Regions from separate parts of the Homo sapiens genome. Here regions 2, 3 and 4 are each linked to region 1. Evidence: promoter capture Hi-C in 16 types of primary human blood cells and fetal thymus (Javierre and others, 2016). All regions are on one chromosome and are shown on one strand. Each heading gives the region's core, a stretch centred on a gene start or on the middle of the fragment in contact. The rest is flanking DNA. Distances are from core to core; before and after follow the strand shown.

What was found. Contacts are between HindIII fragments. The CHiCAGO score rates a contact against its expected background, and 5 or more counts as called.
Region 2: a fragment that was not itself captured here is called in contact with the fragment with the promoter of BTBD2 in region 1 in 2 of 17 cell types (M0 macrophages and M1 macrophages); the score reaches 5.4 in M0 macrophages.
Region 3: a fragment that was not itself captured here is called in contact with the fragment with the promoter of BTBD2 in region 1 in 1 of 17 cell types (fetal thymus); the score reaches 6.4 in fetal thymus.
Region 4: a contact is called between the fragment with the promoter of LSM7 here and the fragment with the promoter of BTBD2 in region 1, in 1 of 17 cell types (monocytes). The highest score is 5.1, in monocytes.

Annotation. Positions count from the first base shown.
Region 1 is chr19:2,013,883-2,018,672 of GRCh38, reverse strand. BTBD2 (BTB domain containing 2) reads left to right here and starts at 2,959. Exons shown (of 9, transcript NM_017797.4): 1 at 2,959-3,376. The coding sequence starts at 2,970. It overlaps LOC107985278 (a long non-coding RNA gene), which reads left to right. Exons shown (of 4, transcript XR_001753845.2): 3 at 1,373-1,490; 4 at 1,579-2,328. RefSeq lists silencers at 3,153-3,302, 3,313-3,362. The HindIII fragment of the contact is 21,370 bases long and covers 1-4,790 here.
Region 2 is chr19:2,310,046-2,315,238 of GRCh38, reverse strand. No RefSeq gene overlaps it. Among named protein-coding and RNA genes, the nearest start is that of LINGO3, 4.5 kb to the right of the region's middle. The HindIII fragment of the contact is 6,944 bases long and covers 1-5,193 here.
Region 3 is chr19:2,270,587-2,275,946 of GRCh38, reverse strand. OAZ1 (ornithine decarboxylase antizyme 1) reads right to left here. Exons shown (of 5, transcript NM_004152.3): 2 at 4,417-4,562; 3 at 3,993-4,165; 4 at 3,127-3,212; 5 at 2,459-2,975. The coding sequence ends at 2,839. It overlaps PEAK3 (PEAK family member 3), which reads left to right. Exons shown (of 4, transcript NM_198532.3): 4 at 1-1,316. The coding sequence ends at 267. Among named protein-coding and RNA genes, the nearest start is that of OAZ1, 3.8 kb to the right of the region's middle. RefSeq lists enhancers at 1-896, 1,701-1,840, 3,281-3,340, 3,351-3,410 and silencers at 2,221-2,470, 2,931-3,080, 4,620-4,959, 4,970-5,169. The HindIII fragment of the contact is 5,733 bases long and covers 1-4,241 here.
Region 4 is chr19:2,325,783-2,331,259 of GRCh38, reverse strand. It overlaps LSM7 (LSM7 homolog, U6 small nuclear RNA and mRNA degradation associated), which reads left to right and starts at 2,674. Exons shown (of 4, transcript NM_016199.3): 1 at 2,674-2,699; 2 at 2,783-2,873. The coding sequence starts at 2,694. SPPL2B (signal peptide peptidase like 2B) reads right to left here and starts at 2,576. Exons shown (of 15, transcript NM_152988.3): 1 at 2,485-2,576. The coding sequence starts at 2,550. RefSeq lists silencers at 2,290-2,549, 3,570-3,669 and enhancers at 2,760-2,809, 2,820-2,869, 2,305-2,959, 3,240-3,299. The HindIII fragment of the contact is 4,029 bases long and covers 1,342-5,370 here.

The DNA of each region.
Region 1 (4,790 bases), core at 1,710-4,209:
CTGGCCTACAGCTCTTTAAAAAAAAAAAAGTCCAGGCGCGGTGGCTCACATCTGTAATCCCAGCACTTTAGGAGGCCGAGGTGGGCGGATCACGAGGTCAGGAGATAGAGACCATCCTGGCTAACACGATGAAACCCCGACTCTACTAAAAATACAAAAAAAAAAAAAAAATTAGCCGGGCATGGTGGCAGGCGCCTGTAGTCCCAGCTACTCGGGGGGCTGAGGCAGGAGAATGGCATGAACCTGGAAGGCAGAGCTTACAGTGAGCCGAGATTGCACCACTGCACTCTGGCCTGGGTGGCAGAACGAGACTCCATCTCAAAAAAAAAAAAAAAAAAAAAAAAAAAAAAAATCGTGAACATCTCAGCATTCCGTAAAGTTCACCCTTTCCTCAGACAACCTACCATTTTGTTAATTTCTGTCACCATGGCAGGTATGCCTGTTCTGCACCTTCATCTAGAAGGGACTGCACAGATGTCCTCTTTAGGATTTGGCTGGAAAGATGTCACTTTGCAAATGTATGAGATGAGAGATAAGAAAGTTGACATTTAGAGGCCGGCTGTGATGGCTCCCGCCTGTAATCCCAGCACTTGGGGAGGCCAAGGCAGGCGGATCACCTGAGGTCGGGAGTTCGAGACCAGCCTGACCAACATGGAGAAACCCCGTCTCTACTAAAAATACAAAATTAGCCGGGCGTGGTGGTGCATGTAATCCCAGCTACTCAGGAGGCTGAGGCAGGAGAATCGCTTGAATCCGGGAGGCGGAGGTTGTGGTGAGCTGAGATCGTGCCACTGCACTCCAGCCTGGGCGACAGAGCAAGACTGTCTCAAAAAAAAAAAAAAAAAAAAAAAAAAATATATATATATATATATATATGTATATACATACACACACACACATATAAAATTAGCCAGGCATGGTGGCAGGCGCCTGTAGTTCCAGCTACTCGGGAGGCTGAGGCAGGAGAATGGCGTGAATCTGGGAGGCGGAGCTTACAGTGAGCCAAGATCGCGCCACTGCACTCCAGCCTGGGCGACAGAACGAGACTGTCTCAAAAACAAAACAAACAAACAAAAAAAAATTAGCCTTAGCCAGGCGTGGTGGCGGGTACCTGTAACCCCAGCTACTCAGGAGGCTGAGGCGGGAGAATTGCTTGAACCAGGAGGCTGAGATTGCAGTGAGCCAAGATCGCCATCACTGCACCCCAGCCTGGGCAATAGAGGGAGACTCTAAAAAGAAAAAAGAAAAAAGAAAAAAAAATTGTAACTACCTCAACCACCCACTCTGGAGAACTGAAAATAGCATTATCACTTGGGTTTTTTTAATACCCTATTTTCTTTTTCTTCTTTGTTTTTTTTTTTTTTCGAGACAGGATCTTGCTCTGTTGCCCAGGCTGGAGGGCAGTGGTGGAGTCATAGCTCATCAAAAGCTCAACCTTCCAGGCTCAAGTGATGCTTCCGTCTCAGCCTTCTGAGTAGCTGGGACAACAGGTGCGTACCACCACGCCTAGTTTTTTTTTTGTTTTGTTTTGTTTGTTTGTTTGTTTGTTTGAGACGGAGTTTTGTTCTTGTTGTTCAGGCTGGAGTGCAATGGCGCGGTCTCGGCTCACTGCAACCTCCGCCTCCCAGGTTCAAGTGATTCTCCTGCCTCAGCCTCCCGAGTAGCTGGGATTACAGGCACCCGCCACCAAGCCTGGCTAATTTTCGTATTTTTAGTAGAGATGGGGTTTCACCATGATGGGGTTTCACCAGGATGGTCTCGATCTCCCGACCTGGTGATCCGCCCGCCTCGGCCTCCCAAAGTGCTGGGATTACAGACGTGAGCCACCGCGCCTGGCTAATTTTTGTATTTTTTGTAGAGACAGGGTTTTGCCATGTTGCCCAGGCTGGTCTCCAACTCTTGACCTTAGGTGATGCACCCCCCGCCTTGGCCTCCTGAAGTGCTGGGATTACAGGCGTGAGCCACTGCGCCCGACCTGGTTCCTCAATCTTTGTGGCATTTGTCTACCTTGACATTATGTATGTAGTAAGCGTTTTGGGGGAGTCCCAGCTCCGTCCACACTGACCACCCCCCACACCTGGCCTGGAGAGGGTGCTGGGCGTCTGCTGAGTGTCAGTGCACGTGGCCTGCATCCTGCTCGCTCATCCGCAGCTTCCCGGCCTCAGGCTATGTCTCTGTACAGCGGAGCCTGCGCCACGGAGCAGGCCCGCCACCTGGGTCCGGGGTCTGGGGTCTGGAGTTTGCGCTTGGTCTTTGGGTTGGGGGTTCCGGGTCTGAGGTATGGGATCTGGAATCCGGAGTCTGAAGTCTGGGGTTCAGAGTCTGGGATCTAGGATTCAAGGTCTGAGGCCTGGGATCCCGGACTGAGGTCTGTGCTCCAGGGTTTAGGATTCCCGGTCTGGAGTCTGGGGCCTGGTGCCTGGACCCCAAATTCTGGACCTCGGTCTGGAGTCTGGGCTTCAGGTCAGGATGCTTAGGGAGTGGAGCAAGAGGTCTTCCACCAGCTCCTCCCCTCTACAGGCCCCTCCTACTCTTCCCTCTCCTCCCCGTCCCCTCCCCTGCAACAGCCTCCCCCATTCACCTCCCTTCTCCCCTCCCTCCTCCCCTCCCACCTCCCCTCCTTTCCCCTCCCTCTCCTCCCCTCCCTCCTTCCCCCTCCTTTCCCCTCCCTCTCCTCCCCTCCCTCCTTCCCCCTCCTTTCCCCTCCCTCTCCTCCCCTCCCTCCTTCCCCCTCCTTTCCCCTCCCTCTCCTCCCCTCCCTCCTTCCCCCTCCTTTCCCCTCCCTCTCCTCCCCTCCCTCCTTCCCGCTTCCCCTCCCCTCCCTCCTCCCCTCCTTTCCCCTCCCTCCTCTTTTCCCCTCCCCTCCCTCCTCCCCCTCCTCCCCCTACTCTCCTCCTTTCCCCTCCCTCCTTCCCTCCTCCCCTCCCTCCTTCCCTCCTCCCCTCCCCCGCCCACGCCGCAGCCACAAAATGGCGGCGGGTGGGAGCGGCGGGCGTGCGTCGTGCCCGCCGGGGGTCGGGGTCGGCCCGGGCACGGGGGGCAGTCCCGGGCCCAGCGCCAACGCCGCCGCCACCCCGGCCCCCGGCAACGCGGCCGCCGCCGCCGCCGCCGCCGCCGCCGCCGCCGCCGCCCCTGGGCCGACGCCGCCCGCCCCGCCGGGCCCCGGGACAGACGCGCAGGCCGCGGGCGCGGAGCGGGCGGAGGAGGCGGCGGGCCCGGGGGCGGCGGCGCTGCAGCGCGAGGCCGCGTACAACTGGCAGGCCAGCAAGCCCACCGTGCAGGAGCGCTTCGCCTTCCTCTTCAACAACGAGGTGCTGTGCGACGTGCACTTCCTGGTGGGCAAGGGGCTCAGCTCGCAGCGCATCCCCGCGCACAGGTGGGCGCCCCGACCCCGCCAGCCCTGGCCCCGACCCACCCAGCCTGCTGCCCGGGCCCTGCACCTGAGGCCCTGCACCCCTCTGTCCCCGAGACCCCCGCACCCCTCCATCCCCGAGCCCTGCACCCCTCTGTCCCCGGGACCCCTGCACCCCTGCATCCTCAGGCTCCGAACCCAACTCGGCCTGCACCCCGGGGCCTGCACCTGAGGCCCTGCACCCCTCTGTCCCTGGGACCCCTGCACCCCTCCGGTCCTGAAACCGACCCGGCCTGCACCCCGGGGCCTGCACCCTTCCATCCCTAGACTCCACCCAGTTCCCTGGGCTCTGCACCCCTCTGTCCCTGCCTCTGCACCTCTCTGTCCCCAGACCCCACCAGGCCTGCACTCTGGGCCTCTGCACCCCTCCATCCCCAGGCCCCCCTGGATCCTCCACCTCTGGCTTGCGCCCCCAGCCTGTTCCCCGGGATCCCAGGCCCTGTACCCCTGGGACCCCTGCTCTCCTCCGTCCCTGGACCCACCCAGCCTGCACTCCGGTACCCTCCGTTCCTGGGACCCTCCAACTCGGCCTGCACTTGGAGCCCCTGGGCCCCTCCATCCTCAAACCCCACCCAGCCCGCACCCCAGAACCCTGAATACCCCATCCTCAGGGCCCTCCACCCCCCGCCTGCACCCTAGGACCCTCCATTCTTCCATCCCCAGGACGCTCCATCCCTGGACCTCACCCCTCCCTGCACCCCAGGTCCCCAGACACCTCTGCCCCCAGATCCCTGGGCCCCTCCACCTCCGGCTGGAACCCCTGCCTACACCCCAGGCCCCTCCATCCCTGGACCCCACCTGGCCTGCATCCCTGGGTCCCCTCCATGCCCTGGCCCTGCACCCCCACCCACCACCCCTGGGACTCCTGTGACCCTCCAACCCTGGGACGTGTACCCCTATCTGCTCCTCCATTCCCAGGACCCCAACCCACTGTTTCTAGGACCCATGACCCCACATGCCACACCCCTCCATCCCTATACCCGGGGATCCTCAGGACCCCTCCATCCCCAGGCCCTGCACCCTTGCCTGCCGCCCCTCTCCCCCTGGGACCCCTACTGGTGACCCCTCCGTCCCTGTACCCAGGGACTCTCCAGGACCCCTCCTTCCCCAGGTCCTTCACCCCTGCCCACTGCCCTTCCACTCTCTACTCCCGGGGCCCCCTGGGACCCCACTACACTCAAGTGTGTCACCCCTGCATCCCAGGATGGAGAGACTTCTCCGCTCTCACCTGAGACCCCCCGTCCCCAGTCCTCACCACCTCAGTCCGTAACCCCCAACCTATGACTCCTGAACTCCAGGACCCCTCCCTTCAGGGGTCGTGCTATTTCCTCCACCCCCACCCATGACCACAAGACCCCTCCCTCTTCCCCCACCATCC
Region 2 (5,193 bases), core at 1,892-4,391, 300 kb before region 1:
GCACTCACTTGGACAAAATTCAGCATTCATGCAGATTAAAAACACGCAACTAGGAATAGAATGGCATATCCTCAACCAGATAAAAGATGTCTATAAAAACCCTACAGCTGTCATCCTCAATGGCGAAGGACTGGGTGCTCTCCCCCTAAGGCCAGAAACAAAAGAAAGATGTCCAGTTCCACTGGTTCTTTTCAACATTGTACTGGAGGTGCCACACGGTGCAATAAGACAGGAAAATGACATATAAGACAAACAGCAGAAAGGAAGAACTAAGGCCAGGCACAGTGGTTCAGCAGCTCATGCCTGTAATCCCAGCACTTTGGGAAGCTGAGGCAGGAGGATCACTTAAACCCAGGAGTTCAAAACCAGCCGGGGCAACATGGCAAGACCCTGTTTCTACCAAAAAAAGAAAAAATTAATGGGCATGCTGGCATGCACCTGTGGTCCTGGCTACTCAGGAGGCTGAGACGGGGGTGGGGGTCACCTGAGCCTGGGAGTTGAAGGCTACAGTGAGCTATGACTGCACCACTGCATTCCAGCCTGGGTGACAAAGCGAGACCCTGTCTCTGGAAAAAAAAAAGAGAGAGAGAGAGAGAGAGAGAGAAAGAGACAGGCATATCAACCAATTGCAGTAAATGGACCTTATTTGGATTCTGAGCTGAACAAAGTGTGAAAAAATTTTAGAAGGCAGTCAGGGAAACTGGACACTGCCTGGATATTTGAGCATATTAAGGAATTACTGTCCATTTTCTTAAAAAATGATAATGGAATTGTTGGCTGTGTTTTTTAAGTCATTGTATTTTAGAAATGCAAATATTTATGGATGAAATTACTTCGTGTCTGGGATTTGCTTTGATATAGTCTGTTGGGGAGGGTGGAGAGGGACTTATGGAACCAGATGCATCACACTTTGGGGATGGCTTTATGGGGGTTCATTACGTGATTCTCTAAGCCTTTGTTTGTGTATAAAATTTTCCATAATAAAAGGTTAAGCCAGGCGCTGTGGCTCACGCCTGTAATCTCAGCACTTTGGAAGGCTGAGGAGGGTAGATCACGACGTCAGGAGTTCGATACCATCCTGGCCAACATGGTGAAACCCCGTCTCTACTAAAAATACAAAAATTAGCTGGGCGTGTTGGTGCACACCTGTAATCCTAGCTACTCAGGAGGCTGAGGCAGGAGAATTGCTTGAACCCAGGAGGCGGGGGTTGCAATGAGCCGAGATCGCGCCACTGCACTCCAGCCTGGGCGACAGAGTGAGACTCTGCCTCAAAAAAAAAAAAAAGTAATATAAGCAAGAGTTTCCTTCAGAATCTGATGTGGGTGATTAATTTCCATGTAAATCAGAGGAGAGTTGTGTTTTTTTTTTTTCTCGGCCACTGCGCCTGGCTGAGAGAATTTTTTTTTAATAGTAGATGGATAAATTTCATTCTAAACCTAGAACTTACTCTGGGGGTCACTTATTTGTGGGGACAGCTAATTTTTGTATTTTCATCGTGTTGGCCAAGCTGGTCTCAAACTCTTGACGTCAACCGATCCACCTGCCTTGGCCTCCCAAAGTGCTGGGATTACTGGTGTGAGCCAGCGCACTTGGCCAATATGCATATATATTTTTTGAGACAGGGTCTTGCTCAGTCGCCCAGAATGGAATGCAGTGGTGAGATCCTGGCTCACTGCAATCTCCTCCTCCTAGCCTCAAGCGATCCTCCCACCTCAGCCTCCTGAGTAGCTGGGGCTACAGGCATGCAACACCATGTCCAGATAATTTTTTTTTTAAAGAGATGAGGGTCTCGCTATGTTGCCCAGACTCCTGAGCTCAAGCGATCCTCCTGCCTCTCCCTCCCAAAGTGCTGGGATTCCAGGCACGAGCCACTACGCCCGGCCATTGTCCCCTTCCTGTCCTCGGTCAGTGTCTCCCCACCCCTTGTCCTGAGTGGAAGCCTCCTGAGGGCAGGGACGGCGCCTGAGCCTGGCATGGACGCAGCACCTAGTAGGAGCCCAGGCGATGTCGAGAAGTGCAGTTTCTTTTGCATCCTGCAGGACGAGGGAGGTGGGTTTGATGTCCCGTGGAGCACCCCAGGCCCAGCAGCTCAGCTGCTGGGTGATCTTGGGGTGTCCCTCAAGTCTCTGGGCCCAGCATCCCTGGCAGGATGCATCTCCCTCGGTTCCTCTTGGAGAGCTGCCCGGGGGGCGGGGGCAGGGAGAGCGTGGGAGGGGGATGCAGGCGCGGCTTTGAGCCTCCCAGGCGGTGGGGTGGGAGCACCTGGTTGCTAAGGTTACGACCACCTGTGATGGGACGTTGCCATGGAGACTTACCACCTGGGCGGAGAGGGCGGCTCCAGATGGGGAAGCCGTGGGAGAGGCTGGGGGGCAGGGAGGCAGCAGCCCGCAGAGGGGGGCATCCTTCTGGGGACGGCCGTGGTGGGGCCGAGGGGTCTCCTGTCCTGTGCTCTCCTGCCTGGGAAAACCAGCAGGAACTCTTCTGCAGCAGGAACCATTTCTAAAATTAAAAGCCCTCCTCCTCTCGCTCGCTCTCTCCAGCGTGAGGGACGGGACCAGATGCGGGCGGGAGTGGCAGTCATGTCCCAGGGAGGGAGGCTGCGGGGGCAGGTGGCCTGGGAGCCTCCCGTGTGGCCCCAGACAAGTGGCCACCCTCTGTAACTGGGGAAAGAGTCCTTGGCTGCTAAGAGGCAAACGTGTAGAGTCCTGGAAGCCTTGGGCTCCAGATGCCTGAGGTCAAGCCCCAGCTTCAGCAGGCAGATGCTGTGTGACCTGAGGCTAGTGACCTAACCTCTCTGAGTCCCCAAATTCTCATCTGTAAAGTGGGAATAATAATGAATCCAGGCCAGGCACAGTGGCTCACACATGTAATCCCAGCACTTTGGGAGGCTGAGATGGGAGGATCACTTGAGGCCAGTTCAGGACTGCAGTGAGCTATGATTGCACCACTGCACTCCAGCCTGGGCAAAATAGCAAGACCCTGTTAATTAAAAGTTAATCTGGGGGCCGGGCACCGTGGCTCACGCCGGTGATCCCAGCACTTTGGGAAGCCAAGGCGGGCAGATCACGAGGTCAGGAGATTGAGACCATCCTGGCTAACATGGCGAAACCCCGTCTCTACTAAAAATACAAAAAAATTAGCTGGGCGTGGTGGCAGGCGCCTGTGGTCCCAGCTACTTGGAAGGCTGAGGCAGGAGAATGGCGTGAACCCGGGAGGCGGAGCTTGCAGTGAGCTGAGATCGCGCCACTGCACTCCAGCCTGGGCGATAGAGTGAGACTCCGTCTCAAAAAAAAAAAAAAAAAAAAAAAGTTAATCTGACCCAGGCTCAGTGGCTCATGCCTGTAATCCCAGCACATTGGGGGGCCGAGGTGAGCGGATCACTTGAGGTCAGGAGTTCTAGTCCAGCCTGGCCAACATGGAGAAACCCCATCTCTACTAAAAATACAAAAATTTAATGAGCCTGGTGGCATGCGCCTGTAGTCTCAGCTACTCGGGAGGCTGAGGCAGGAGAATTGCTTGAACCCAGGAGGTGGAGGTTGCAGTGAGCCAAGATTTGCACCGCTGCACTCCAGCCTGGGCAAACAGAGTGAAACTCTGTCTCACAAGATATAAAAAAAGCTAATTTAAAAAAGCCAGGTGTGGTGGCACATGCCTGTAGTCCCAGCTACTTGGGAGGCTGAGGCAGGAGGACCACTTCAGCCCAGGAGTTCCAGGCTGCAGTGAGCCATGATCACACCACTGCACTCCAGCCTGGGTGACAGAATGAGACCCTGTCTCTTAAAAAATAATAATAAAAACTAATCCCTCATCATTTTGGGGAGGAGTAAATGGACACATAATATTACAAGACTGGGCTGGGCACAGTGGCTCACACCCGTAATACTAGCACTTGGGGAGGCCAAGAAGAGAAGATCACATTAGGCCAGGAGTTCAAGACCAGCCTGGGCAACTTAGTGAGACCCCATCTCTACAAAAAATAAAAAAATTAGCCAGGTGTGTTGCCACTCACTTGCAGTCCCAGCTTCTCGGGAGGCTGGGGTAGGAGGATCACTTGAGCCCAGGGGGTTCAAGGCTGCAGTGAGCTATGACTGCGCCACTGCACTCCAGCCTGGGTGACAGAGCGAAACCCTGTCTTAAAAAAGGCTGGGGCCGGGCTCGGTGGCTCACGCCTGTAATCCCAGCACTTTGGGAGGCTGAGGCGGGCCGATCATGAGGTCAGGAGATTGACACCATCCTGGCTAACATGGTGAAACCCTGTCTCTACTAAAAATACAAAAAAAAATTAGCCGGGCCTGGTGGCGGGTGCCTGTGGTCCCAGCTACTCGGGAGGCTGAGTCAGGAGAATGGCGTGAACCCGGGCGGTGGGGCTTGCAGTGAGCCGAGATCGCGCCACTGCACTCCAGCCTGGGCAACCGACAGGGTGAGACTCCATCTCAAAAAAAAAAAAAAAAAAGAAGAGAGGGTAGAGCTTGCACTGGACCCATCAGCAAATTACTGGACATCTTAGCAGGCATGTGCCACGCAGGGAGAGATGGAAGGTCGGGGTGGAGACGCGAGTGAAGAGGGGGAAAGGGGCGGGCAGAGGTCTGGGGGAAGGGCGTTCTAGGCAGAGGGAGCAGCCCGTGCTCAGGCCCTGCAGTAGGAGCCTGGCCCAATCTCCACCCCCAAGGGCTCGGGAGCACTGGCCACAAACCGGGCAGAACCACTGCAGAGTCTCTGCAGCCCCGGGAGAAGATGGGAACTGTTCCGATCTCCATTTTGCAGAGGTGGAGACCGAGGCTAGAGGGACATCCCCCACGGTTACACAGGCAGGGCCTCGACTGGACCCCAGCTGGCATCCCTCACCCTCCAGGACTCATAGCAAGTGTCTCCTCCTCCGGGAAGCCTCCCTGGCCCCTGGCTTCGGTCCGGGACCCGGTGTCACTACTGCCTCTTCCACGCCGCTTTGTGACGATTTCATATTTCAGGCATCTGCTCCCTCTGTCCGAAGAAATCCCCCTTGAGGCTGGAAGCGTCTCCTCCTCCTCCCTCCAGCCCTTGGCCTGGTATACAGTAGGTGCTCAATGAACACCTTCCTCCAAGAGCCCTGAGAGCCAGCTATCAGGAGCATCACTTTACAGAGAAAGAAACACGTTCAGAGAGAGAAGGAGACCTCCCCTACTGGGGTCACACAGCACAGCAGCCCAGGGCCA
Region 3 (5,360 bases), core at 126-2,625, 260 kb before region 1:
CCCTCGGCGTCCCGGACGCGGGGCGCGCTGCAGGCGCTGCTCTGGGGGCCCGGGCCTGAGCTGCGCGGCCGCGGAGCACCGCTTGGTCCCTGGCTCCGAGCGCTCGGGCCCTGGCTGCGGGTGCGCCGCGGGCTGCTGGTCCTGCGCCTAGCAGAGCGGGCCGCAGGTGGGGAAGCTCCCAGCCTCGAGGACTGGCTGTGTTGCGAATACCTGGCCGAGGCCACCGAGTCCTCGATGGGCCAGGCCCTGGCGCTGCTGTGGGACTGACCCCAACCCAGGGCGAACACACCTGGTCCAGGCCTGCCCAGGAGGCAGGGCTGGGGCTGAGGTCAGCGTCTCCATGATAGCCAAGACACCCTCTTCCTGCAGAGTCCAGGAGCGCAGCAGAGAGAGCAATGCCCCACTCCAGAGCCTCCCCTCCCGTGCTGGGGATGTGGGTCAAGGGCTTCCCAGGAATGCAGCTGCCCCTCCAGGGCTGGGGGCTGGCCAGCGCCTCCTGTGTTGGGCAGCAGCTCTCTGAAGCCAGGGCCCCCACGCCACTTCCAGGTGTGGACAACCCCGCTGATCAATGTCTCTCTGTGTTCTGCCTTCCCCAGCAGCCAGGGCGCTCTTCCGCGTGGGTTCTGTCATTGTCTCCATGAGAGGCCAATGCCGGGACCAGAGGCATTCCTGGCTCTGGAGCACCCCCTTGTGCTGAAGATGGCCAGTGATTTTGGGCATGTGAATGCCCCTGTCCCTGGTGGAGAATTGCTTGGTGGTGTCACGGGAAGGGAAGGCTCCCTGGGACCTTAGACACCCAGCTCATCTCAGCGGGGTCTGGACTCACCTTCCCTAAAACAGTCCCCGCGGTTCCCTGCCACCTCCCCTCAATCCCTCTGCGCCCACCCTGCCTCCCTCCCTGTTCCTCCGTGACACACCAACTTCTTTCGCGCCCCCAAGCATTTGTGTAGGCTGTTCCCTCTGCCATACTGTTCCAGTTCCACTTTCTTTTTCTTTTTTTTTTTTTTTTTTTTTTGAGACGATCTCGGCTTACTGCAAGCTCCGCCTCCCGGGTTCACGCCATTCTCCTGCCTCAGCCTCCCGAGTAGCTGGGACTACAGGCGCCCGCCACCACGCCCGGCTAATTTTTTGTATTTTTAGTAGAGACGGGGTTTCTCCGTGTTAGCCAGGATGGTCTCCATCTCCTGACCTCGTGATCCGTCCGCCTCGGCCTCCCAAAGTGCTGGGATTACAGGCGTGAGCCACCGCGCCCGGCTACAGTTTCACTTTCTCTAAACAAATAAAGGTGCCCACTCTGGGCCATCGCTAGCTCCTTACCCTGCGTTCTCCGCCCACTCTCAGGAGCATTTATTCCTCTGTTACTGTCCACAAGGCTGTGAGTTCCCTGGGGGCAAAGGCCAGGCTTGGCACACAGTAGGTGCTCACTTAATACCACAGGATGATGTAATAAACAGGCACAGAGGAGACTCACTGGAGGGGGATGGAGTCTTCCTTTATGCCTCTGACACACTGCACTGCCCTTGCCTGTGGCTTCCTTCCTGGAGACTCAGAGTTGCCCCTCCATTCCATTCCCCATGGCAGTCCTGGGAGGATCTTTCCAACCCCAGATATGAGGTCCCTCTCCAGCTCAAACACCTCCCATGGCTCCCCAGTGCCTCAGAATACATACAGGGCTCTTCCAAAGTCTCCTCAGAGTCTCCAACCCCATGTCGTTCATCCCTGGAGGTTACTTTCCAGCCTCCACGCCTTTGCCCAAGTTGTTTTTTACACCAGAAAACAGCCCCCTCTACTCTGCTTCATACTCCTATTCATCCTGCATGGCCTCAGCTCTAATGCCCCTTCTCTGCATTTGCGCTGCCCAAATGAGCTGGGGGTATCTGTGTCCAGGTTTGTCCTCCCGGCCGACCCCACCACCGCTCAGACGGCTGAATATCCCCCCGGCCCGCTCGCCAAGTCTACAATCTTTTCGAGTTCCTCCTTTCCTCCTCTTTCCAGCCGGTTTCCCGGCCAGGCCTGGCCCTGATTTTCCGGGTGGCGCTCCCGGATGCGGCCGGCAGGTGGCGCTGCGGCCGGGCAGACGGCGGGGTTGCAGACCCGGAAGCGCTCCAGGCCACGACCCCGCCGGAAGTGCTGCTGCCCCGAACGGCGCTGCAGGTCCCTAGGGGCGGCCAGTAACACGGCGAACTCAAAAGTTGAGTTGGGAGCACAGACATCCCCATGCGCAGGCCCAGGCTGGGGCGGAAGGGGACGCGAGGCAGGAAGGGGCTTCAAGCGAGCAGTGGCAAGGCTGGCGCCAAGCTGAGGGCCCGGCCTCCCAGCCCAGGGGGTCTCCTCCGTGGGAGGGGTCCCGCAGCTGCCTGGGTGCCAAATCCCCCGCGACCCCTCCACCCAGGGCCCTCTGTGGTCCCAGGCACTCCTCCCACCAGTCCCCAGCGTCACCACCACAGAGCCAGGTGCATCGGGTGTAATCACTTTATTGGCTTTTGGAGAGCAATGGAGGGGATTAATACCTCATCTTTCCAAGTTAAAAGACTAAGACTGTTTCCAAAAGACTCCAAATAAGAAACTTCTCCTCAAAGTACAAGGATAATCTGAATCATCTTAAACCAGCAATAAAAAAGTAAAATATAAATTTTTATTTAGAATTAAAGCAAATACTTCAGTATCACAAACACAATATTAAACTTCAAGAAATACACCGCTAATTCGGAGTGAGCGTTTATTTGCACGATTACAACATGCGGACAAACCCAGGCGAGATGAGCGAGTCTACGGTTCCTACCCACCCGGCTGACAAGGGGTGGCCCCAGGGGCCGGATGCCCAGCCCCGAGGCGGCCCTACTCCTCCTCCTCTCCCGAAGACTCTCTCTCGAACGTGTAGGCCATGAAGCAAGCGTCGGGTCTCTTGGGGACAAGGGGATGCCCCGGTCTCACAATCTCAAAGCCCAAAAAGCTGAAGGTTCGGAGCAAGGCGGCTGCGGGGGAGAAGCCGTCAGAACCCCTGCCGACCAGAACCCCCCGCCCGCACCCCCCACCCCCGCAGGGAGACCGTGCCTGCGGGCTGAGAATGAAGGGGCGGCGCAGGCACCCCCACGCACCCTACTGCAGGCGATACGGGTCACCTACCTCTGTCCTCGCGGTTCTTGTGGAAGCAAATGAAGACATGGTCGGCTCGCAGCTGCTCCTCAGCGAACTCCAGGAGAACTGCAAAGCTGCAGCGAGTGTCAGCGTCTCGGCTGGCCCGACCCACCTGCCTACCTCCTGGGCCTTAGCAGCTACCCTGAGGCCCGCTCTACTCCAGGGTCCCCCTGGGGCCCAGATCGTCCTCTGGGTGGGGCCGTCCTGACACCACAGTGTTGAGCAGCACCGCTGCACCCACCCACGTGCATGCCCCATGACAGAAAAGCTCTGACACTGCCTGGCATCCCTTGGAGGGTAGAATCCCAGGGTACGAATTTGGAGTGCACTTTTTAAAAAGGGACCCCAGGCCGGGAGCGGTAGCTCACGCCTGTAATCCCAGCACTTTGGGAGGCCGAGGTGGGCGGATCACGAGGTCAGGAGTTCAAGACCAGCCTGGCCAACATAGCGAAACCTCGTCTCTACTAAAAACACAAAAATTAGCTGGGCATCGGTGGCGGGCGCCTGTAAGCCCAGCTACTCGGGAGGCTGAGGCAGGAGAATCGCTTGAACCCGGAAGGCAGAGGTTGCAGTGAGCCAAGATCATGCCACTGCACTCCAGCCTGGGCAACAAAAGCAAGACTCCATCTCAAAAAAAAAAAAAAGGGGGGACCCTGTCCCCACCAACAAAGCGATGGTGGCCCCCATATGTGCTGCCTGAAGGCAGTGCCCTCCCTCATCTGTCCCTGCACCCCTTGGGCAGCAACCCGCACCTGGTCCCTGCTCCCCTGGGTGAGCACTCCCCGCCTGTCCTTGCCCCTCACCTGGTCCCTGCTCCCCTGGGTGAGCACTCCCTGCCTGTCCTTGCCCCTCACCTGTCCTTGCTCCCCTCGGGCAGCGCGCCGCCCGGGATCTCGATGTAGAGGCTGCCGCCACTCAGCACTGTTCGCCAGTTAATGCGTTTGGCGTCTGTGAGCCTGGACTGGACGTTGAGAATCCTCGTCTTGTCGTTGGACGTTAGTTCCTCTGTTACATTCAGCCGATCATCCTGTCCAGGGGGTGCAGCCCAATTCAGAACCCTGACTCACCCCACAGGACTCCAAGAACCCGGCAGCGCTAAAGCTTGGGCCTAGGCCGTGTTGAGCTCAGGCAACGCCTGGGCTGCAGGAGACTGTGCGCCGGCTCTGATGAAACTCAGGGTTCCCACGATTACATTCAATCACAGGTACGGGCAGCAAGGTGCACAAGAAAGTACCTGTGGCCCCAGAGCAGCCCCAGCAGGCCCGGCCCCATACTCACGGAGTAGAATAAGTTAGCTGAAAGATTGTGATCCCTCTGACTATTCCCTCGCCCACCTGGGATCTTCAGGGGTGGGTGAGGGGCATCAGGAGCACCACCGAGGCCCCGGACCCGGGTTACTACAGCAGTGGAGGGAGACCCTGGAACTGAAGATGATGCAGGTCACGAGGCAGCGCCAGGCTCCGGGCGGAGACCCCTCCAGGGCGTCCGGGCGGCCTTCAGCACATCCCCACCCCTGCCTCGGCCAAAAGACCCCGCCCCGCCCAGGCAGGGGCCCACCCGGTCCCACACCCCCGAGGCTTCCCGAAGGCAGCTCCAACGCCTGCCCCAAGCACCTACAAGGGCAGCAGTCACTGAGCCCCGACTCCTCGGGCGGCGCCGCCCAGGACAGCCCAACCTTCCCAGGGCGGGGGGCCCCTTCCCCTCACGCAGCCCCGCCGGGGCAGAGCCTCACCCCCCGGCCACCAAGACAGCCAGCGCTTCCCCTTTTCAGTTCTGTCGCGGCTTCCCCTTTCCACCCTGCACTACGGCCAAAATCTGGGACTCTTGCTTGTCCCCGCGAAGACCGGGCGGGCCTAGCCTGACCTCATGGAGGACGCGCCCCGCTCCGGCTCCCGGCCGCCCGCCCCCCCGCCCCCGCTCCAGGCCCGGGCCCTCCCGGTTGCGTCATCCAGGCAGACGCGGCCTCGCGCCCCGGGGGAGATTTTCACAATCGCGCAGCCGGCAGCGCCAGCAGCCATTTGCTGCGCAGGGTAAACAGGCCCCAAAGTTGCCTCCATTTTGCACGGCCCCCAAACCGCGGCACCGCCAGCACCGCGGCCCAACCTCCCGATCCGGGGCTGAGCGACGCCCACCTCGGGGGACGCAGTCGGGAAAGCTCGACCGAGACCCCGCGGGCTCCCCCACAACCGCAGCTGGCACCCGCGCCCCCGGAAGCGGGACGC
Region 4 (5,477 bases), core at 1,425-3,924, 310 kb before region 1:
AAGGGCCTTTGAAACAGGCCAGTGAGTCCAGGCGGGGAGAGCCTCCCTTCTGGGAAGACTGAGGAGTTCCAGGAGCCGGGCCGGGTCCAGCCAGGGCCACCAGCTCCAGCTCAGATCTGCTGAGGAGCGGGCTCCGTGGGGTGGGGGAAGGGAGGTGTCTCACTGGGGAGGTCGACTTCCTTGCTCAGGGTCACAGAATGGTAGCAAGCAAGCGAGTTGAGGACTGTCACCAACCAGGCTCCTGCCCTGAGAGCAAGTCTCATTCTTGGGCAATCGGACTCAAATTTCCACTGCCGCGAAGCACTGCCCCCCTCCAGGGACAGGCGTCTCAGGGTGTATTTACAACCAGGGTTCTGGAAGGGGCAGGAACACCTGCTCTCTCACGTCCCTCTGACACATCCTTTGACTCCCCACCCTCCGGATAAAGCTCACACTCCTCAGCCCGCCCAGGTTAAAGTCCACGCACCCCAGCACCAAGCGCCTTCCACGGCCTGGCTTCCACCAGACAACCTGTCATCCAGACTAGGAGGCTGAATGCTCTGCCTTCACTCTCTGCCTGGGGCCACTCGCACCACTGCCCCCTCCTCTGTGCCCCTGCTCCAGCAACCCTCCACGGCCCACCCCCCGGGCCTCCTTGGTGGTGACATCTTTCAGGGTGTAAACCCTTCCTTCCAGCATTATTCCACCCTACACTCCAGCCACAGCCCACCCCTTGCCAACCCCAAATAACCTGCCAGCTCTCACACCTCCCAGCCCCCGCTTATGCTGCTTCTGGTGCTTCCAACACCCTTCCCCTCCTGCCGACCCGGCAAACTCCTACTCATCATTCAGAACACCTGCCTCGGGGCCGGGCACGGTGGCTCACGCCTGTCATCCCAGCACTTTGGGTGGCCGAAGCAGGTGGATCACCTGAGGTCTGAAGTTCGAGACCAGCCTGACCAACATGGTGAAACCTCGTCTCTACTAAAAAAAAAAAAAAAAAAATTTAGCCAGGAGTGGTGGCATGCACCTGTAATCCCAGCTATTCGGGAGGCTGAGGTGGGAGAATTGCTTGAACCGGGAGGCAGAGGTTGCAGTGAGCCTAGATCATGCCACTGCACTCCAGCCTGGGCGACAGAGCGAGACTCCGTCTCAAAAAAAAAAAATAGATCTGCTTCGGAAAAGCCTTCCCAGGCAAACTGAGTCCCTCTCTCCACAGAGTTCTGTGATCTTTCTTCCACCTCTGGCTTTCCCCCTCCTTCCAAATGTCTGGGGAGCTCTAGGTGCCTGGCTGCAGAATGGGGGGAGTCCAAAGGGGGCTGACAGAGCAGCTGGGGGTAGGACTGGGGTTCTCAGAAAGCTTCCGAGGGGGCCCGACAGCCTTGCAGAGACCAGGGGCATCTCAGGGTAAGAGAAAAGACTAGAGAGTGAAGCGACTGCAATGAGCTGCAGGCTTCCCCAGCAGCCAGGTCACAACTGGACGGCGCACTCATCTGGATGCGACACGGTCTGACATACTTTGAAAGGGTCACCCCTGCTGTGTCGAGGATGGACTGGGGATGTGGTGGACAAAGGCAGCCACAGCAGAGGGATAGCGGTGGGGCTGGAGGAGTGGAGACTGAGGAGCCAGGTGGCGGCGACGCCTTAAGAGTGAGAACTCTGAGGGGGTAGTGAAGGTTAAGGGCTGCATTTGTGGGGCTGCTCCAGGTTCCATTGCCTGAGCCACCGAACTCAGGAGAGAGGGAAGATTTGGAATTAAGAAAATAAAAGATGCAGTTATGACAGTGCGATCTCGTAGACTGTCCCCACTAGAACCTGACACTCTTTACATCAAATGACACACAATGAACATAATGAAGGCCTGTTGGCCCTGGGCGCTGGTCACCCTGGACAGAACCTCCAGAATCCACACCATAGTCGGTCCTCCTTCTGCACACGAATTCCATCGTCCAAGGTCACGGAGTAAAAGATGGAGCGGGGATCCGACCCCAGTGCAGGGCTGGACTCCTGGCCGCTCCAGGATGCTGCCAGTTACTGGGGGACGCGCGGGACGCCTCTGGGTTCCCCCACCGCACCCCCTAGGGTGAGGTTAGCTTAGCACCGTGCCCGTTCCGCCTAAGGGGAAACTGAGGCTCGGAGAGGGGTGGGCAGCCGCCTGCTCAAGGCCACAGAGCCGGAGAGAGGCGTCCCCGGCGGCAACTGGAGACCCCGAAACGGAGAAGCAGAACCGGAGGATGGAGGGGGCACAAATTTCAGACCCGGTGGGAAGTGAGTGGCGCTGCAGCGGCGGAGGGCCTCCGAGGCGGGGAAAGGAGAGGAGCCGGGGACAGACCCGCAAGGTCACGGCCGAGCCCCGGCACCGCCGGCCGACAACGCGGGGACGGCGGATCCCCGAGGCTGGACCCCCAAGACGGGCCGAGCGGGGTCGTTCCTGCGCGTAGCCCGGGGACAGAGAGGCCGAAGGGCCGCAGCCCGCGGTGCCGTCGGGACCGGTGCCGCGCTCACCTGGGCCGCGAGGAGCAGAAAGGCCGCCAAAAGCCGCGCCAGCGCAGCCGCCACCGCTGCCGCCATGTCGGCCGGTGCCCGCCGCAACCAACGGCAGATGTTTCCCAGCAACGCCCCGAGACCCCGGGCCACGCATGCGCCGCGCATGCGCGTGGGGGAGGTCAAAGGGCGCGGGGCGGTGCCTGCGAAGAGCCACACGGCGCGACAAGATGGCGGTGAGCGCGCGGCGGAATCTGGAGCCGGGGGGCGTGGAGCTCGGGCCGCGCTCCAGGTCTCATGCGCTCTGCTTTCCCCGCAGGATAAGGAGAAGAAGAAAAAGGAGAGCATCTTGGACTTGTCCAAGTACATCGACAAGACGATCCGGGTAAAGTTCCAGGGAGGCCGCGAAGGTGAGGAGGCTCCCGCTGTCGGTACCCCCTCTTTAAAAATTTCAAATAAACCCAGCAACAGAGATGATGAGGACGCATGCGGAAGCACCTCTTTTATTTATTTTCATTATTTTTTTTGAGACGCAGTCTCGCTCTGTCACCCGGGCTGGAGTGCAGTGGTGCGATCTCAGCTCACTGCAACCTCCGCCTCCCAGGTTCAAGTGATTCTTGTGCCTCAGCCTCCCGAGTAGCTGGAATTAATGTGTACCACCACGCCCGGCTAATATTTGTATTTTTAGTAGAGAGGCCATGTTGGCCAGGATGGTCTCAAACTCCTGGCCTCAAGCGATCTGCCTGCCTCAGCCCCCTAAATTGCTGGGATTTCAGGCATGAGCCACCATGCCCAGCCTAGCATTTTTGACTGGGCAAGTGAGCTGCCTTCTCCTAGCCTCCGTTTCCTCATTTGTCAAATGGGGCTGGTAACTCCACCCACTTCACAGGGGGTGGTGAGAATGAATGGTTACAGGCATGTAATGTAATTGAGGCAGCTCTCAGCAGGAAGTAAGCAGTCAGACAACACGTCACTTATTCAATAGCCTCTTGGATCTTTGGTTTCTTTTTTTTGTAAGACGGGGACCCAAACCTCTTTGTCCCTGGATTGTAGACAACTGGGTGGCATGAGAGTTATTAAAAATCACAGTGCCCCAGCCGGACGGGGCGGCTCACGTGTGTAATCCCAGCAATTTGGGAGTCTGAAGCAGGAGGGTGGCTTCACCCTAGGGTTTGAGGCTGCAGTGAGCTATGACCGCACCACTGCACTCCAGCCTGGGCCACAGAGCAAGGCCCAGTCTCAAAAGAGAAAAAGGAGGCCAGGCACAGTGGCTCATGCCTTTAATCTTGACACTTTGGGAGGCCGAGGCAGGCAGATCAGGAGGTCAGGAGATCAAGACCATCCTGGCCTACGTGGTGAAACCCTGTCTCTACTAAAATACAAAAAGTTAGCTGGGCATGGTGGCGCACGCTTGTAGTCCCAGCTACTCGGGGGGCTGAGGCAGGAGAATTGCTTGAACCCCAGAGGCGAGATTGTGCCACCGCACTCCAGCCTGGCGATAGGGCAAGACTCCGTCTCAAAACAAAAAGAAAAAGGAATATGAATAAAATGTTTTCTCAGTCTACACCATGCTGACTCCGGACATGGAAGGACATGAGTGAGCGGCCGCTCTTGCTGGTCACACTGCTTCCCTTTGTTTTCTGCCCTTCATAGCAAATCACCCATTTAGCAGCTGAAACAGCACCATTTTATTATCTCACAGGATCTGTGAGTCAGGAGCCAGGGTACCACAGCCTCAAGGGCTCTCAGGAGGTTGTAACTGAGGGTTGTTTTTTGGGGTCCATCATCTTGGGGTCTTCTTCTGAGCCCACTGGTTATTGACAGAGCTCAGTGCCTTACCTTTGCAGGGCCAGGGTCCCCGTTCTGGCCAGTGTTGGCTAGGGACACTTGCAGCTCCCGGACGCTGCCAGCTCGGGACTCTGTTCCACCGTGGTGGTCTGCCCCTACAGTGCTGCAGGCTGAGCTGACATTTGTCCATATTCAGTTATTCGGGCCAGTGGGAGAATCATCTTTCAGAAAGGGTTTGGGGCCGGGTGCGGGGGCTCACGCCTTAATCCCAGCAGTCTGGGAGGCTAAGGCAGGTGGATCACCTGAGGTCAGGAGTTCGAGACCAGCCTGGCCAACATGGCGAAACCCCATCTCTACTAAAAGTACAACAATTAACTGGGCGCTGTGGCTCACGCCTGTAATCCCAGCACTTTGGGAGGCTGAGGCGGGCAGATCACTTGAGTTCAGGAGTTTGAGACCAGCCTGGCCTACATGGCAAGGCCCCATCTCTACTAAAAATACAAAAATTATTTGGGCATGGTGGCGCATGCCTGTAGTCCCAGCTACTTGGGAGGCTGAGGCAGGAGAATCGCCCTGGAGGCAGAGGTTGCAGTGAGCTGAGATCGCGCCACTGCATTCCAGCCTGGGCGACAGAGCAAGACTCCATCTCAAACACACACACACACACACACACACACACACACACACACACACACAAAAAGCAGAAAGGGTTTGGTCCCTGAAGGGCTCACCTGATGCAGTCAGGCCCACCCAGGGTGTTTCTCTCTTGATTGGCTCAGTCAGCTGATTCAGGGGCTCTAATTACAGCTGCAAAGTTCCTTGTCTTTGCCACATAACCTAAGCGCAGGAGTGACATCTTGTCCCGTCAGAGTCACAGGCCCTAGCCCACACTCCAGAGGAGGGGCACCTTGGCTCCATGTTAGAGACCTACCTACCTCAGTGCTCACATCTCTCCCCGTGAGGAGGGCGGGCTCACTGGTCAGGCTGGTGCCAAGGACCTGAACATCTGCATCTGACCCCATCTTATAGGTGAGTTTCATTTTGCAGGGGAGGGACTTGAGCAAAGAGAGAGGGAGCCGTGGAGGTGGAAGCTGAAGCCTGTGGAGGTGGACGGAAGCTTGTATGCAGGCGGGCAGACCTTCTCTGTAGAAGGCCAGACGGCAAATATCTTTAGCTTTGCAGCCCAGATGGTCTCTGTCACAACCACTGAGCTATGCCAGCAGAGC